Regions from separate parts of the Homo sapiens genome. Here region 2 is linked to region 1. Evidence: promoter capture Hi-C in human tissues and cell types (Jung and others, 2019). All regions are on one chromosome and are shown on one strand. Each heading gives the region's core, a stretch centred on a gene start or on the middle of the fragment in contact. The rest is flanking DNA. Distances are from core to core; before and after follow the strand shown.

What was found. The method cuts DNA at HindIII sites, captures the fragments that hold promoters and counts their contacts. A contact is called where the count stands out against the background at its distance.
Region 2: a contact is called between a fragment that was not itself captured here and the fragment with the promoter of MMP15 in region 1, in 1 of the 25 tissues and cell types used here (H1 embryonic stem cells).

The regions. Positions count from the first base shown.
Region 1 is chr16:58,020,924-58,028,656 of GRCh38, forward strand. MMP15 (matrix metallopeptidase 15) reads left to right here and starts at 4,831. Exons shown (of 10, transcript NM_002428.4): 1 at 4,831-5,589. The coding sequence starts at 5,428. USB1 (U6 snRNA biogenesis phosphodiesterase 1) reads left to right here. Exons shown (of 7, transcript NM_024598.4): 7 at 1-695. RefSeq lists enhancers at 3,440-4,027, 4,028-4,613, 4,846-5,395, 5,946-6,495 and a silencer at 4,840-4,979. The HindIII fragment of the contact is 8,795 bases long and covers 1,180-7,733 here.
Region 2 is chr16:57,798,686-57,806,418 of GRCh38, forward strand. It overlaps KIFC3 (kinesin family member C3), which reads right to left and starts at 3,806. Exons shown (of 20, transcript NM_001130100.2): 1 at 3,685-3,806. RefSeq lists enhancers at 2,749-3,425, 4,103-4,779. The HindIII fragment of the contact is 7,020 bases long and covers 38-7,057 here.

The sequences.
Region 1 (7,733 bases), core at 3,581-6,080:
ACCCACACTCACCAGAATCTCCACTGTAGTCCCCCTAACAAACAGCCCTTCACTTCCTCTCCCACTTCAGCAATTTGTATTTTGATGCCATTGGCCTCAGATCAGAGTGTTTTAAATCATCACGCCCTGGCTTATCCCTGGTCGAGCCAGGACACGGGGTGCTTCAGTGGGTCTGTCACCCTCTCTCCTTGAAGCATGTTGCTTTTATTTATTTACTTTTACTCTCACCCTGCTCCTGTACCAGCAGGGGCCACTTCAAAGCCAAGGTACAGGGTGATAACTTGTGGTCCAGCATCAGTTTTCTCCACTTCTTTCTCCCACTCACCCCCAGCAAGGTGCCTGGGGAGACTTGAGCAGATGTTTCATTTTGGCCTGGCCAGTGGCTGAAAGCCAGGCCTCCAATGCACTGTGACCTCTGGCTTCCCCAGCAGCTTTCCCAGAGAGGCAGAGGGGCCTTCCACAGCCCGGGTTCTCCTGCTGCCTCCTGCCTGCTGCAGCTGCAGGCATTCTGAGGGGCAACGTGGAGGAAGGGCCAGGGATGCATGGGATTTTAATTGTTTCATCACACCTTCCCCGTGGCAAAGAAACAGTCAGTCCTCTTCAGGTGTCTTCTGGATTTCTGGTGATGGACAGAGAAATCTTTTTACAGTTTCAAATTATGTTCAACAAATAAAAATTGCATTTTTTATTTTGGATCTTTTTTGGACTACTTGTATTTAACCCAGTGAAAAGATGACTGTCACCTTCCCCTACCCTGTCCAGCTGTGTCTCACAGTTTGGGAGGATTCTTGGAAGTCTCTGCTGTGACTTCCAAGATGGCCTCGAGAGGCATTAATGATGCTTCAGTAAAATAAGGGTAGGGAGGGGTCACCCAGCCTGCCAGGTGTACACACAGAGTTCTCACATAGGACATCTAGCCTGGAGCTAGGTGGCAGGGGTCACCACCCTCATCCCTCACCCACATAGGCAGACATTGAAGCCTTATACTGCTGTGACACTGAGCACTTCCCAGAACCTTCTCGTGTCTTCCTCCCAGTATCCCCTGAAAGGTAAACAGGGTGGGAATGTCTAGTCCTCTGTTACAAGAACAGGTTAAGTGACTTGCTTGCATGAGAAATAGGGCCGTACTCAGCCCTAACCTCAGGTCCTGTGCTGGGGTGGCCCTGATCCAGCCCTGCACACCACCTCGTGGTCAGGCCTGGCATCTGGGTGGGGACATAGGGCTTCAGGGAAAGGTGTGGGGAGAGGGGCCTGTTGCCCAGGCTCCCATGGTGGCCCCTGCAACCCCACCTTTCCTGAAAGGGGCAGCCTCCCAGCCACTGCACTGAAAGACACAGGCACATTCTGTGCCTTGTTCCTGCTCCCCACCGCATTGATCTGCTGACTCCGACTCATCATTAGTCTGGTTCTTCTGGAGAGGAGGAGGATGCCGGGCATACTTTCTGGCTTGCAAGCAACATGGCAACTCCGGCTGTGCAGCCTGCACTTAACTGACACCTGCCCTGTGCCAGGCCCTGAACTGGGCACTTGGTGAACCAGACTAGGTCTACCCTCTGGGTGCTCACAGCAGGGCTGAGCAGGCAGGGAGCACAGAGAAGAATCCCCATCCTCAACATGGTACTTCCCCAGACTTGGGTACTGGCTCCTATTGGGAGGGGGGCAGGTGTGAGGTAGGGCCTCCATCAACAAGCCCAGGAAGAGGGACTGGGCCATTCCCCTGGGGGAGGATGTGGCTGGGGAGTCTGTCTGTGCTGAGGATGGAATTTGAGTGCAGCAACTTTGAGAAATGGGCCAAGATCAATAACTGGCTCCTCAATGGAGAATGGAAGGTGGCAATGGAGGAAGGAAGCAGGAGTCTCGCTGAGGGGGAGGGGTGGGCAGGCTGGGCCTGAGGAGGAGGCTGGCGGCAGGAGCTTGGCGGGCACCCAGACACTGAGTGTGCCTCTGGAGCAGAGTAAGCCCGTTGAGCGAGCGCTCCCGCTGACAGTGCAGAAGCAGCCGGGGCTCTTCCATAACAGGAGATTCTCCATAAGAGGAGAAACATGGGAGACAATTCTGGAGACAGAGGGAAGACCAGAGAAGGCTGCGGTCCCCCCCAGGGAGGCTGGCCCAAAGAAATGCTCTTGATGAGGATTTTATCGCACCAGGGAGAGTACAAAATCAACACATCTGGCCTCGGTGTCCTCAGATGTTCCCCGCAGGGCAGGGAAATCATCTCACGCCTGTTTGGCTGATTTCCACCTGGCACTCTCCAGCGCCTCTCCAGACCACCCCAGCTTTGTTTCCAAGGGAGAGGGAAATTACCTTGGCTTGTTTGTTTATTCCTTGTCTTGGCACGAAGAGTCCCAAGGCCTGCTTCACCTTTGATGGTGGGTCGGGTGGGTGCATCGCCCGAGGGGCCCCTGGAGGGGAGAGCTGGGGGAGGGGGTGTCCTGGGCCTAGTTCCATCCCACAGCTACTTTCCTTCACTGAACAGGAGACCTCCCCTACGACCTCAGAACTCTCCTTTTGCAAATGAGGAAACAAACCCAAAGAGGGGAATAACTTGCTCGGATTGCCCAGTAAATTACAGCTGAGGCAAAAACCCAGGGACCTGGCTTCTGATCCAGAGCTTTTTACAATCCCTCACACCACATCGGGACCTCTAAATGAAACTGCTCTGAAACACCATGTCTGGGCTTTCATTCAAAAGACCAAGAAAAAAAAGGTGTGTGGTGGTGGGCGGGGGTGTCAGGGCATAGATGAAACGGTATTGGCAAAATATGGATAAGGTTTAAAGCTACTTGATGGAAGGGCTGCAGTTCACACATCTCAGTCCCACTGACTAGTCCTTTCGGGCTTTGGGTGCTGTCCAGACCCAGTAGAAACCCAGCTATCTTGGGTTGGATGTAGATGCAAATCCACCTTGGACTCCCAAAGTACCTATAGGAGCCAGAACCAATAATTGGGAGCTTCAAGATCTGGTCACAGGGGATGTCATTTCCTTAAGGCAGGATTGGACCCCAAGAGAGGAACCTCCAACAGAGAGAAAATCACCAGACTTGACCGACCCAGGCCTCAAAGAACGTTGCTCCACTCATTCCTGGGCTCCTCTCACTAACAGCTAGCCCCTTAAACCCCAACTTTTTTTTTCTTTTTTTCTGAGACAGTGTCTCGCTCTGACAGCCGGGTTGAAGGGCAGCGGCATGATCATAGCTCACTGCATCCTCAACCTCCTGGGTTCAAGTGATCCTCCCAACTCAGCCTCCCAAGTAGCTGGGCCTACAGACGTACACCACCACACCTGGCTAATTTTTGTATTCTTTGTACAGATGGGGTCTTGTCATGTTGCCCAGGCTGGTCTTGAACTCCTGGGCTAAAGCAATCCTCCCACTTCGGTCTCCCAAAGTGCTGGGATTACAGGCTTGAGCCACTTTACCTAGCCCCAAACTTTTTAAAATTGGCTAATCGGGACTAAATATCATGAAAGAGTGCGACGTGGTCGGTTAAACAAGGACAACCCCGTTGTCCGTGTCTGAAGACCACTGCACATTTCCCAAAAGCAAATTTCGAAGTGGAGAATTTAGAAACCAACTTCCCAGATGAAGGATCCCACAGAGAAGTGAGTCCGTGGAAATGATAGAATCGCCCGGTTCCTTTCTCTAAACTCCGACTTCCTTTCCCCAAGGACATCCCAGGAGGGTTCAAACGCGCCCTCTCTAAGGCACTCTGCCAGGTCTCCTGATTTCCAGTTTCCGGGAGGTGAGGCCGGCTAGGGTGCCCCGAGGGCCTGCTCTAGAGAAAACCGCCCTCAGGTGAGGACGGCTTCCATTTCCGGGTCTGAAGATAAGGAACAGCTTATCTTCGGTCTCCGCCCTCCTGCCTGCAACCCTCACCCACTGACCACGCCGGCCAGTCCGCCGCGCCAGGGCTGCCCTTGGCCTGGTCCCCGGGTCTCGGTGGACCTTCGACCCGGGCCTCCCAGCTCTGGCCTCCTGCATCCACCCCGCCCCGACCTCAAGCTGCTTCCGGAATAGAATGAAATCCAGCTCGTTAAGCTTCGCGGGGAGGTGTGTCCACCCGCCCCGCGCCGACTCCGGCCGCACTGTCGCACTTCACTCGCACCAGCCAGTGGCCAAAGTGCTTGGGCACCTATTGCGCCAGGCCAGGAGCCGGAAGTCTTACCTCGCCCTCACCCCAACTCTTTGCCCCACGTTCCCGATAAGAACATGGAGGCTCGGAGAGATTAATTTGCCCACGTGCAAGCGGCAGCTAAGGGGCGGACGCGGAACTTGAACCGTGTCCCTCCTAAACCTGCCCCTTGTCCGCCGCAACGCGCCCTCGACGCGCACAAAACCCTCACTTTGCTACTGAGGAAAGTTATTCAATGGCCAGAGACACCCTGCGGCTTTTGAAAAGAGGTTTCAGGCTGACAAATATCCATATATACATATATATTTATATTTAAGCCTAAAACGACTCTTTGATCCCTCCCCTAAGACCTCCTTCCCGTCCGCCTAGGCCTCGGTATCCCCCACCAGGTATGAGAAGGAGGAGTCTTCATTCTTCCCAGGCGGGGAGACCACGCCTTCCCTGCCTCCTCCCTCCGCGGGGGGTCGCGTTGGAGGTCACCCCCGCCCCCTAGGCGCTGGGTTGGGAGTGACGCGGGGTGGGCTGGAGAGGTTTCCTGCCGTCTGGGAAGCGTAAACGGACCGCCCACCTGTCGGGCCTCGGCCGCCCGCACCTGCTTGTGAGAAGCCTGCGGCTGGGGCACCGCCCCCGGTCCCCGCCCGGGTCCGCGCATTGGGAGCACACTGGCCCTTTAAGAGCGCGGCGGCCGCGGCGCGCGGGGAGGAGGGCTGGGAGCGCCCGGAGCCGCGCTGAACTCGCCGGGGACGTCGGGCGCCCGCTCCTTGGCTGGCTCGCTTGCTCTCTCGCTCGCTCTCTCGGGTCGGCTCCCTGCGCCTCCTCCCGGGACTGCTTGGGGACCCGGGCCCGGTCGGGCGCGGCGGCGAGCAGAATCCCCGTGCAGGAGGCGCGCGCTCCGGGCAGCGCCCGGCCCCGGGCATGGACAGAGGGAGCTGGGCGCGCAGGGAGCGCCGCGGGACCGGGCGGCCGGAGCGCTGAGCCAGACAAAGGCTCCGGAGTTGCGCTTGCTCTCGGGAGCCGGGCCCCAGGCGCTGGGCGCCGAGGCTGCGGAACCTCGCCGGGGGCAGCTCCGGTCGGCCCCCTTTCCCGCCGGCTGGTTCCGAGCTCCCGGACCTGCCCTGCCCGCTTCTCCTCGGGCTTGGGAATTTGCCGAGGCGACCTAGGCGGCTCCGGCGGGGACCGGGAGCCCGAGGTCCGCGGCGCGCCTGCCGGGCCAGGAGCCAGGGAGCGTCGCAAGTTTCCAAGGCGCGTGCGAGGATCCGGCGTGCAGTGTTCCGAGCTGGGCTGGGCGCCGAGAGCATGGGCAGCGACCCGAGCGCGCCCGGACGGCCGGGCTGGACGGGCAGCCTCCTCGGCGACCGGGAGGAGGCGGCGCGGCCGCGACTGCTGCCGCTGCTCCTGGTGCTTCTGGGCTGCCTGGGCCTTGGCGTAGCGGCCGAAGACGCGGAGGTCCATGCCGAGGTAAGACCCCCGCCCTGCCCTTTGGCTGCGGGCTGGGGGCTTGGAGGGAGAGGCGCCACGTCCGCAGGCTGGGACTTGGAGGTGGAGGGAGCGGAGACGCGCCCCCTGTTCTGGGCCGTGGCGGGGAAGCAAGCGGACTTGGCAGTCTGCCCCTCCCCAGCTCGCCCTCTGCAGCGCACCTCTTCGCAAACCCTTGAGGGCGCAGGGCCTCGCTCTCCTCCCCGCTACTCCTACAGCCCTGTTCTGGGCACTGAGCCCCCACCCCGACCCCCTTACATTCAGCCTGTGTCCCGGGAGCCGCTTCCGCCGCCCCCAGCCCTTGCCTCCCCTCCTTCCTTCCCTCCAGGGCAGCCGATTCCTCGAGAGCCCGGCTGGCGCGCAGTGGCGCTCTTTGCGAGTGGGGAGGGGGCTGCTCTCGGGGACAGCCACAGGCGGAGCAAGAGCTGGGCGGCTGGGCAACTGCGCTCCTGCCCAGGTGGCCTCCCGTCTGGGTGATACCGAGCCGCGCACGGCGGGCCAGGATGGAGGCGGGGGGATGGGTGCAAACGGCTGAGGCAGCGGACTCGGGTTGCGGGGGCGCTTTGGCGACTTTCTGCGCTTTTGCGAGGAAGCCTAGGCACGCCCGGGCGGGGTCCTAAGGACGGACCCTGCCTCCCACAGCGCTTCCTCCCAACAGCGCCCCTACGTCGAAGCCCTGGATTCGAGAGGGTGGACCCCGCGCCTCTCTTCGCTAGGAGCCCGCTTGGCGTCCCTCCCGGGGCCCCGCTCTGGATGGGTCCCGCGGGTGACCAGGCGCGACATCCCGGCGTAGAGCCGAGTCCAGCCAGCGCCCCAGCTCCATGGTGTCTCCCGAGCGAGGACACCGAAGGCGCCAGCTTTCTTGCCCCAGAGCAAGAGCAGGGTCCACTCTTCCCCGACTTCTAAGACCTGCGCCCTGCCCCAGATAGGCGGGGAGAGGACTTGGGCGGGGAGTAGGGAGAAAGAACCACCCCGGAGCCGCTTCTGAACGGTGCTCAGGCCTTGGTGCCCTTGGGCTGCCCGGGCTGCGGGCCTGAGCGCCGTTTCTATTTGCAGCTCAGCTGGTGCTCCCTCCCTGGCCCACGGCGGCTTTCCCACCTCTCCGGGCTGCCTGGGAGATTTTTCCGATGGAAGCTTGCCCTTCCCCGCCCTACTTTAATAAAAGCATAGAGGAAGGGCAGGGAATTCCTCCTGGGCTCGAGTTACACCTCCCAGCCATTTCCCCACCTGCTCTGCCCTCCCTCCCTGGCCTGGCCAGGGAGAGCTGAAGGAGGAGCCAGGCCCTGGTGGGAGGCAGGATAGGAGCCCCGCCCCGACCCAGTCTGGCCACCCTCCCCCACCCCATTCACACAGGCAGGAGGAGCTTTAGGGGGCTCCTGTTGGTGAGGATTACCCCTCAGCCTGTGACCCAAGTACTGGGCGGAGAGTGCCATTTGGGCCCACCTGCCACTCTGGGCTGGAGTGCCAAAGAATTTCAAGTCACAGTCCCACCATTGAGTTTCTAATCTACTTAGGGATGGCGTCAATACATAGGAAGCAGTGATGGAATTCAATGGCCGTGCATTGCTAATGGCATCCTAGCTGGCCAGGAGCTCAGGGGTGCAGGGACCTGTAGTTGGAGGGGCTTCACTCTCTCTCTCTTCTGCTTTTCCAGTTCCATCTCACCCCTACCCCAACTCCCCAGCTCAGGGAGTGCCCACAGCTCGATGCCGCCAGGGAAGAAGCCATGGTTGCGTTATCACAAACCGTGCTCCTGATCTGGAGGTTGTGACTGTCCTGGAGCCCTACTCCTGGGGAAACACTTGGGTTGGACCTGGGCAGTGACTGGAAGAGACCCCGGAAGGTTTAAGGAGCCTTGAATGTTGGCAGCCATGCAGATAGAGGGCTAGAGACAGGTGGAGTGTCCCAGCTCCTACAGTTGGCTTTGGGTACAGGCTGCTTCTAGGGTCCCATCAGGTCTGGCCACATGTGGGCCCAAAGAGTCAAATGGCCTCAGCAGCCAGCCCATCTGCCGGGGGCTGTGGCCTCAGACTCCTGGGCCTGGCCTACACCCTGTGTTGAGCCTCCCTTCCTTGGAGAAGGCTGGCTCTCTCATCCTCACCCCAGCATCCACACAGCCTCAGGCC
Region 2 (7,733 bases), core at 2,298-4,797, 220 kb before region 1:
ACATGCTTAACCCTTAGGCTTCAGGCTGCTCTGCCTAAGGCCTGTCAGCAGAGCAGTGAATGCTCTGAATATTAACATTTCACTGAGGAGGGACTCAAAAGGGCCCTGACTGTGGCCAATGACAAGTGAAGTCTATATACAGTAAGTTCTCATTCATGTATTCGACTAGCCTGCGCTCTGTGCCTAGCATGTGGCAGGCACCGTATGGGTGTTGAGATACAAAGATTCATTCAGTCTTCATTTAATAATGCCTACTGGGTGCCAGGCATCTGCCAGGGGTCCTTTTGGATCAGAAGAGATGAGGCCTGAAAACTCCCAGTCAGAAGGGAGATAAACACTTCAAAAAAACCCTCACAGTCTGAGCAGGCTACTGGAGGCGGCAGGTGCGAGCCAGGCACCAGGTGGTGTGGGGAATGGAGGGGGGCAGAGAGCATTGGTCAGGGATAGAAAGCTTCAGTCAGGGATAGGTCCCTCATGAACTGAACAAATGAACAGAGCTCAGGTATTCCCTGCAGAAGTCTTTATTGAGCACCTACTGTGTGCAAAGCAACCTTGAGGACATTTAAGGTGATCATGCTACAGTCCCAGACTCAGACAGTAATGTCATTTACAGAAGAAGCGAAGTCAGCTTGGAGAGGCAACATGGGGTTTTAAGATTGAGGTGGGGGTAACTGAAGGACTTCCTAGTGGAGCTTCCTGGGCTGTCGACTACTCTCCCCATCCGTCACTGCAGTGGCCACTTCCTGCCAGGAAGTGAAGATAGCTATTTGAAGGGTGTCCACCTCCCCTGACCCACTATGGGCCCACACACATTCATGTTTGCAGCCCCACTGCACCCAGTCTGCAGCTGCACCCACACTAAGAACTCTGGGATGGCTTGTGGGGTGAACGTTCTGAAATGAACACACACAAAAGCTTGAACTGAAGCCTGGAAGAGAGGTCAGGGCTGGACACAGACTCAGAGCTAAACAGGGCCACCAACGCCACAGGTGAGGAGGCAATCATCAAAGCTTGAGCAAGAGGAGACAGCCATGTGATAACAGGGCTCACTGCGGGGTGGAAAGCTGCAGAAGGAAGCTGAGAGAGGGACAGGAGCTCCAGGCAAGTATAGAGTTTTCAGAAGTGACTGAAGTGTAAGTGGGAAGGAGAGGTTGGTCAGTGCCCAGTGCATCATGCCAAAGAGACGTGGAGGACTGAAAGCCCAGACAGGCAGAAAGCCTGAGCCTGTGGAGGGAGAAGGGCAGATGGCAAACTTCGGAGGGCTCAAAGAGTGGGGCGGGAGCTGGGGGAGGAAGCAGCCACTTCCTTCTCCTTGGGGGTGTTTGGCTAGGATGGGAAGGAGAGGATGTGGTGTCTAGAATAGGGGGAGAGTTGAGCATATTGGGGAGACAGAGAGACAGGAGTGACTAAAGCATTGAGAGGCAAAAATAAATAAATAAATAAATAATAAAGTAAAGGGTCCAGGGGTTAGGGGCCTGAAGATCTGGTGTCTGATGTTTGCAGAGCCCAACCCTGGAAGAATGCCAGGCACCTGGCGAGGAAGCCATGGTCTCTTCCTTCCTTGACTTAGAACAACTAGGAGGCTCCTAGGTTCAGTCTTACTGGGAAGGGGATGGGAATGTGGGCCAAAGGACAGGGCAGAGGCTGATCTAAATACGTGGGCCAGCTCCACTGAGGAAACTGAGATGGACCAGTGTGGCGTGGAAGAAACCAAGGGGAGCAGCCAAATGTCCTCTTCTCCAGGCTGCCTGGCACAGAGCTGGGCACACAACCAACCCTGCAGACCAGCTGTCCAATGGGCAAGGGAAGGAGCAAGGCAGGTCCATCTGCAGTCTCGGCTGCTGGGAAGGTGAGACAGTGCAGGGCATTGGAGGCTGACTCCACAGTGGACAGAGAAGACTTTCAGGGAGATCAGCTCAGCTCAGTCTGAGGGGCAGGGACAGGAGGAGATAGCGTTTCTGCGGTTATCAGGAAGGGAAGTGGAGGAGGCAGCCAGGAAGATATCGGGAAGAAAGAGGAAGGGCGTGTGCTAGATCCCGAAGAGGAAAAAGCAGCTGAATTTAGCAGCCTCAGGGGTGTGAAGGTCAAAAGTATCAAGGAATCTTAAGCCCAGGGTTCTGGGCCAAGAAAGCAGGACTCTCTCTCATTTACATGGGCATCTGAGATGAAACCTGGTGTCCGGGGACTTCTACCAACCTAGGATTCGTGGGGGAGGGCAGTGGGACTGGTTCAGAACCTGGCTCCCCTGTTTACTAGATGTCTGACCTTGGGAGAATTACTTTGCCTCTCCGTACTTCATTATCTCCATCTATAAAATGGGGAGAACACCACCTTATAGGGTTGCTCTAAAGATTAGACAAGGCCAAGTGTTCAGAACAATACTGGCATATACAAAGAGCTCCAAAATTTTATTTTTCAGTTACTTTGCTCCAGTGGTGGGTGAATGCAGAGGGCCTGGCTGGGGAAGAGGGTCTCTGCCTCTCTGGGTTTAGACCAGGACAGCAGAGCTGCAATACTCCCCCTGCCCTAGATCAGGGACATTGCAAAGACTGGGGGGACAGGCTGGACAGCTGCTCAGAGACTGCAGCAAGCAGGGCTTGGTCGCCCTGGGAGAGCAGGCAGAAGGTCAAGGAAGTTGTACAGGGAATGCCACCTCCCTGCACACCATCATCTATCCTGGGCTTTCCAGGGCAACCTAGATTTCAAACCCTCTGCTCCCTGGTGCCCCTGTGAACAGCAGAACTCACCACCCTGTGCCCCTAAAGTCCACTCACTGCAAATGCAGGGCCCCATTCTGAGACTGCATTCCTAGCAAATGACTCTCCCTGGTCAAGGAGACGGCTACTCTAACAAGGGCATGGGGAATACACGTCTGGGAAAGAATGGGTGCTCACCCTGTTCAGGCAGAGGAAAAGCCGGGGAAGGTGAAAGACCAGGGGTGGCCACAACCCGCAATCTTGAGACAGTGTTGGGGTATGGAGGTGGGGGCTGGGTGGCAGTAAATGGTACTCCAGAATTTAATTAAACACAGCTTCCTCTTTAATATCTCCCAGGACCAGGCCCTTCACTGCACCAGCCAGAGTTCTGCTCTAACTAGCAATGCTGGGCTTAAAGGGGTGGTCCTGGGATCGCCCTCCCTGCTGAGACCCTCACAACTGCTGCGGCTGTCAATGGCCCGATTCCTCACTGCCCGGAGGGCACCGGCCAAGGCCCTTCTTCCTAACCTCTGGGCGGGCGCACCCCGCCCCAGGCCCTGCCAGGGAAAAAGCGAACTCCCCAAGGGACGTGGTGGGAGGGACCCAAAGGCAGCCTTCCAGGGAGCCCTGGGGGTGGGGAAGACGCCAGGAAGGGGAGAGGGCGGCGCCGATTGACAAGCCCATCCCGGGTAGGGTCTGCGCTCTTCTCGTTCAATAAAATCCAAACGGGGTCCCGAGGCTGCTCGGATCCCGTGGGACACGCCGCCCCTGTGCCCAGCTCCCAGCAAGGTCCTCGACTCGGGCTGAACGGCGCTGGAGGGGACCTCGCAGGGCTGGGTCTCCCGGGCCTTTCCCTCCCCGCGCCCATAGCGGGTCCGGGCAGAGGGGTCCCGAGGGCAGGGCCGGCCCGGACGCGGCGCCCCAAACGGCGGGCCGGGCAGAGCCCAGCGCCCCGCTCGCACCCAGCCCGCCCGGGCCCCCCACTCACCGGCCTGGCGGAGGCAGGATCCAGGCGTCGCCGCAGCGCCCGGGGCTCGGCCCGGCCCGGCCCGCCGGCAGGAGGCAGCTCCACGCCGCCGCCTCCTCCTCGGCCAGCCCGCTCGCGCCCCTCCCGCACACTTTCCACAGGAAATGATTAACTCGGGCCGCGGCGCGTTCCCATGGCAACCGGCTCCGACCCCGGCGGGGGGCGGCGGCGCGCGCCCGCACTCACGCGCACTGGCGCGCACGCGTCAGCCCGGGCGCGCCCCCGCAGGTCTCCCGCCGGCACTCCCACTCCCACTCCCACTCCTTCGCGGGGCCTCCCACTCGGTCTCTCCCGCCTCCCCGCGTCCCGCACTCGCACTGGCACACGTGCTCATGCGTTCCCTGAAGGCTCTCACAAAACAGGCCTGCACACGGGCTGGCACACACGAGGCAGCCCACACAGCCCCACACCTGGTGAGCCATGCGTACTTTTGCACAGCCTCAAACCCGAGTGCAAAACTTCCACGCGAGTACTCACACATACACTTCTCACGCGGGCTCTCATACCAGTACGTGTCTTCCCATCCCAACACACACACAAGCTCTTACTCACGAGACAATACATGTACATCCCTTACCGTGTCCTTGCACGCGCTGGCGCACATGCACTCACACTGTTTACAGCGCACACGCTCTCACTCGCTCCACCACCTACTCGCTGGCCAGGCCGCCTTCTAGCCACAGCACTTCCTACCTCTGCACCCCCAGCCCCACCCCAGCAAATGAATATCTTCCCAGCAAGGAAGCTGCCTGGAGTCCCTTAAGGTAAAACACACCAATGGTGCAGCAGTTCCCGGCCTTGCTGCAGAAGGCCCTGCTACTGGGGCACCTAGAGCCTCAGAAGAGGCCTGGGGGAGGCCAGGGGCCTGCCAGCCGGGAGAGACAGCTGACCTGGAGGAGCCACTCTGTTCTTTGTCTCCCAAACAGAGGCAGCATTTTATTCCAGAGCCAGCAGCAATATTCTCCCTCACTCTCCACACCCCCGGGTGCGGAAGAGGAGAAAGCAAGTCACTCTGAAGCCAGCCCATGCAGGCTGACGGTTCTGCAGATAATCCCAGGAGGGCGGGTACTCTGTCCCTTCCTGCTTGTCAGGGGATGGCCCAAGAAGATCAAGGAGAGGACTGGAGGGGGTCGGGCAACTCCAGGTGGGTTCTATCTCCTGCTGCCGCCCAGGCGCTGGGCTGCCAGTCAAGAATCTCGACCAGCGACGGAGCCAAGGGCCTGGGCCTCAGATTGTTCTGGACGCCAGAGCAGGACAGTCACAGTCCCCCAGCTGGAAGCAGCCTAGTGCATGCTTTATTTGACAACTGAGATTCCTCAGTGAAGGCCTGATAGAGGGTGAATGTAACGCTCCTGGAATCATTCCCTAGAGAGTTAGATTTCCAGCTGAACACCACACTGGAGAACCCTTCCAATGGGAGAGAAAGCCTTATTTGGGGAGTTATGATCTCTGAATTCCTCTGCCTGCCCTCCAAACAGCAGTGATCCAGGGGACCGCAAGGGTGGATGAAGGCAAAATGTCTCTAGAATTCTGATTTAGTATCTATCTCCCTTGATTATAGTCCCTATGAGTTGATGGGGCGGGGGATGGGGAGGACAGAATGTCTTTAAAGTCCTGGTTCAAAACTGGAGACTTTTTCTTACTCAGGGATTGAGTACATTGACATTAACTGTAGGTCCTTCCCACCAAAGCCAAAGCCAGATTTTTAAATTAATAATAACATTTATTGTTCTTTTGCTTTGATTACAAAAGTAATAGATGTTCATTGTAACCATATCCCACACACTGGAGATAAATGCTGCCAACACTTTAGAAGTCTTTTTTTTTCCTGTGTACATAATAGATGCCATTATTGAAGCTAACACTGTGTCAGGCACAGCACTAAGCTCTTTATAAACAAAATCCCATTTAACCCTGAACACCCTATGAACACCAGTACTGTTTCAGGACACCCGTGTTTCAGGAAAGGAAACTGAGCCTCAGAAAGTTTGTTCACAAATGCAGTGTGTGATAGAGCTATGACTCCAATAGGTACTCACACAGTACTATCAGATGCATATGGGTATAACAACTTATTAAGATCAAAGCACCAGCGAAGGAAAAAGGAAATTGAAGTGTAAGGAGGTTGTATTTTTGGAATTCTAGCAAAACTCCGATTTGAAACGTAAAAACTACTTGTTTCATGGTTGTTGCATTTTTGAGACAAGATCTTGATCTGTTGCCCAGGCTGGAGTGCAGTGATGCAATCATAGCTCACTATAGCCCCGAACTCCTGGGATCAAGTGATCCTCCCACCTGAGCCTCCTGAGTAGCTGGGACTACAGGCACACACCAGTGTGCCTAGCTAATTTTTTTTTTTTTTAAGTAGAGATGGGGGTGTCTCACTATGTTGCCCAGGCTGGTCTCAAACTCCTGGGCTCAAGGGATCCTTCTACCTTGGCTTTCCAAAGTCCTGGGATTACAGATGTGAAGATGTGAATCACTGTGCCTGACTCAATTTTTTTTTTTTTTTTTGAGACGGGGGCTCGCTCTGTCACCCAAGCTGGAGTGCAGTGGGATTACAGGCGCACACCACCACACCCAGCTAATTTTTTATATTTTTGGTAGAGACAGGGTTTCACCATGTTGGACAGGCTGGTTTCGAACTCCTGACCTCAAGTGATCCCCCTGCCTCGGCCTCCCAAAATGTTGGGATTGCAGGCATGAGCCACCGTGCCCAGCATGACTCAGTTTTTTAAAAAGAATATTGTGTGGAGTCGGGGTCTAGCTCTGTCGCCCTGGTTGGTCTCAGAATCTTAGCCTCAAGCGATCATCCTGCTTCAGCCTCCCAAAGTGCTGGGATTATTTGCATGAGCCACCATACCATGCCCATCCCAGTTGTTGGAATTTAAGAATGTACAATGTCATCAGGAACTACGTACCAACTCCAAGGTCATTTCTAACCCAGAAACTTCGCTGATGATTTGCATAGGAGGCTGCCAACTCTCCTGGCCCCGGGAAAGGTGCAAGTTTTGCTGAAACCTGGCCATTCCAACACTGAAGTCCTAAACCCTTGAGGGAGGACTCTTGGGTTCAGCCTTAGCCTTGACCCTTCCTGCCGAACTCTGGCAGAGGCACAGCTGTCTCAGGGAGGGCCAGACAGAAGACAGTGTCCAGAACACTGCAATTCCACGCCCACATCCACCCCATCCCCAGGCAGGGACTAGCAGCGCCATCTTTGTGTTCAGACAAGATCAGGTGTGTTCACGGTGGTATGCCCATAGACTTTTTTTTTTTTTTTTTTTTGAGACAGAGTCTCACTCTGTTGCCCAGGCTGGAGTGCAGTGGCGCAATCTCGGCTCACTGAAATCTCTGCCTCCTGGGTTCAAGCAATTCTCCTGCCTCAGCCTCCCAAGTGGCTGGGATTACAGGCATGCGCCACCACGCCCAGCTAATTTTTGTATTTTTAGTAGAGACGGTGTTTTGCCATGTTGGCCAGGCTGCTTTCAAACTCCTAATTTTTGTATTTTTAGTAGAGACGGGGTTTTGCCACGTTGGCCAGGCTGCTTGCGAACTCCTGACCTGAGGTGATCTGCCCGCCTCAACCTCCCAAAGTGCTGGGATTACAAGCATGAGCCACCACACCTGACCCATCTTTGTGTTCAGAGGGCCTGAAACCCTTTACTGCTCAGGCATTCGTCAGAGAAGTGGCCAAGAGCCTGAGAGTTCTGCTCCCCAAAGGGAAGGAAAGAAGGGGAATGAAAAGTCAGATTGTGTTTAATCTGATTCTCATAGCAACCCAGAGTAAAGCACAGATAAGATTTACATGATTTTCCCATTTTAAATGATTTAACCTCAGATCAAGTCTTCTCCGAGCCTTTGCAAATGTTGTCCTCCCTGCCTGGAAAGCCCCTCTCCTTCACCCCATTCTCATCTGCCTCCACTAACCCTTACCTGGCCAATTCCATACCTGCTTGTCCCTCCTTCAAGTTTAGAGGTCACCTTCTTTGACCCTCCCAGGCACCAGCAGG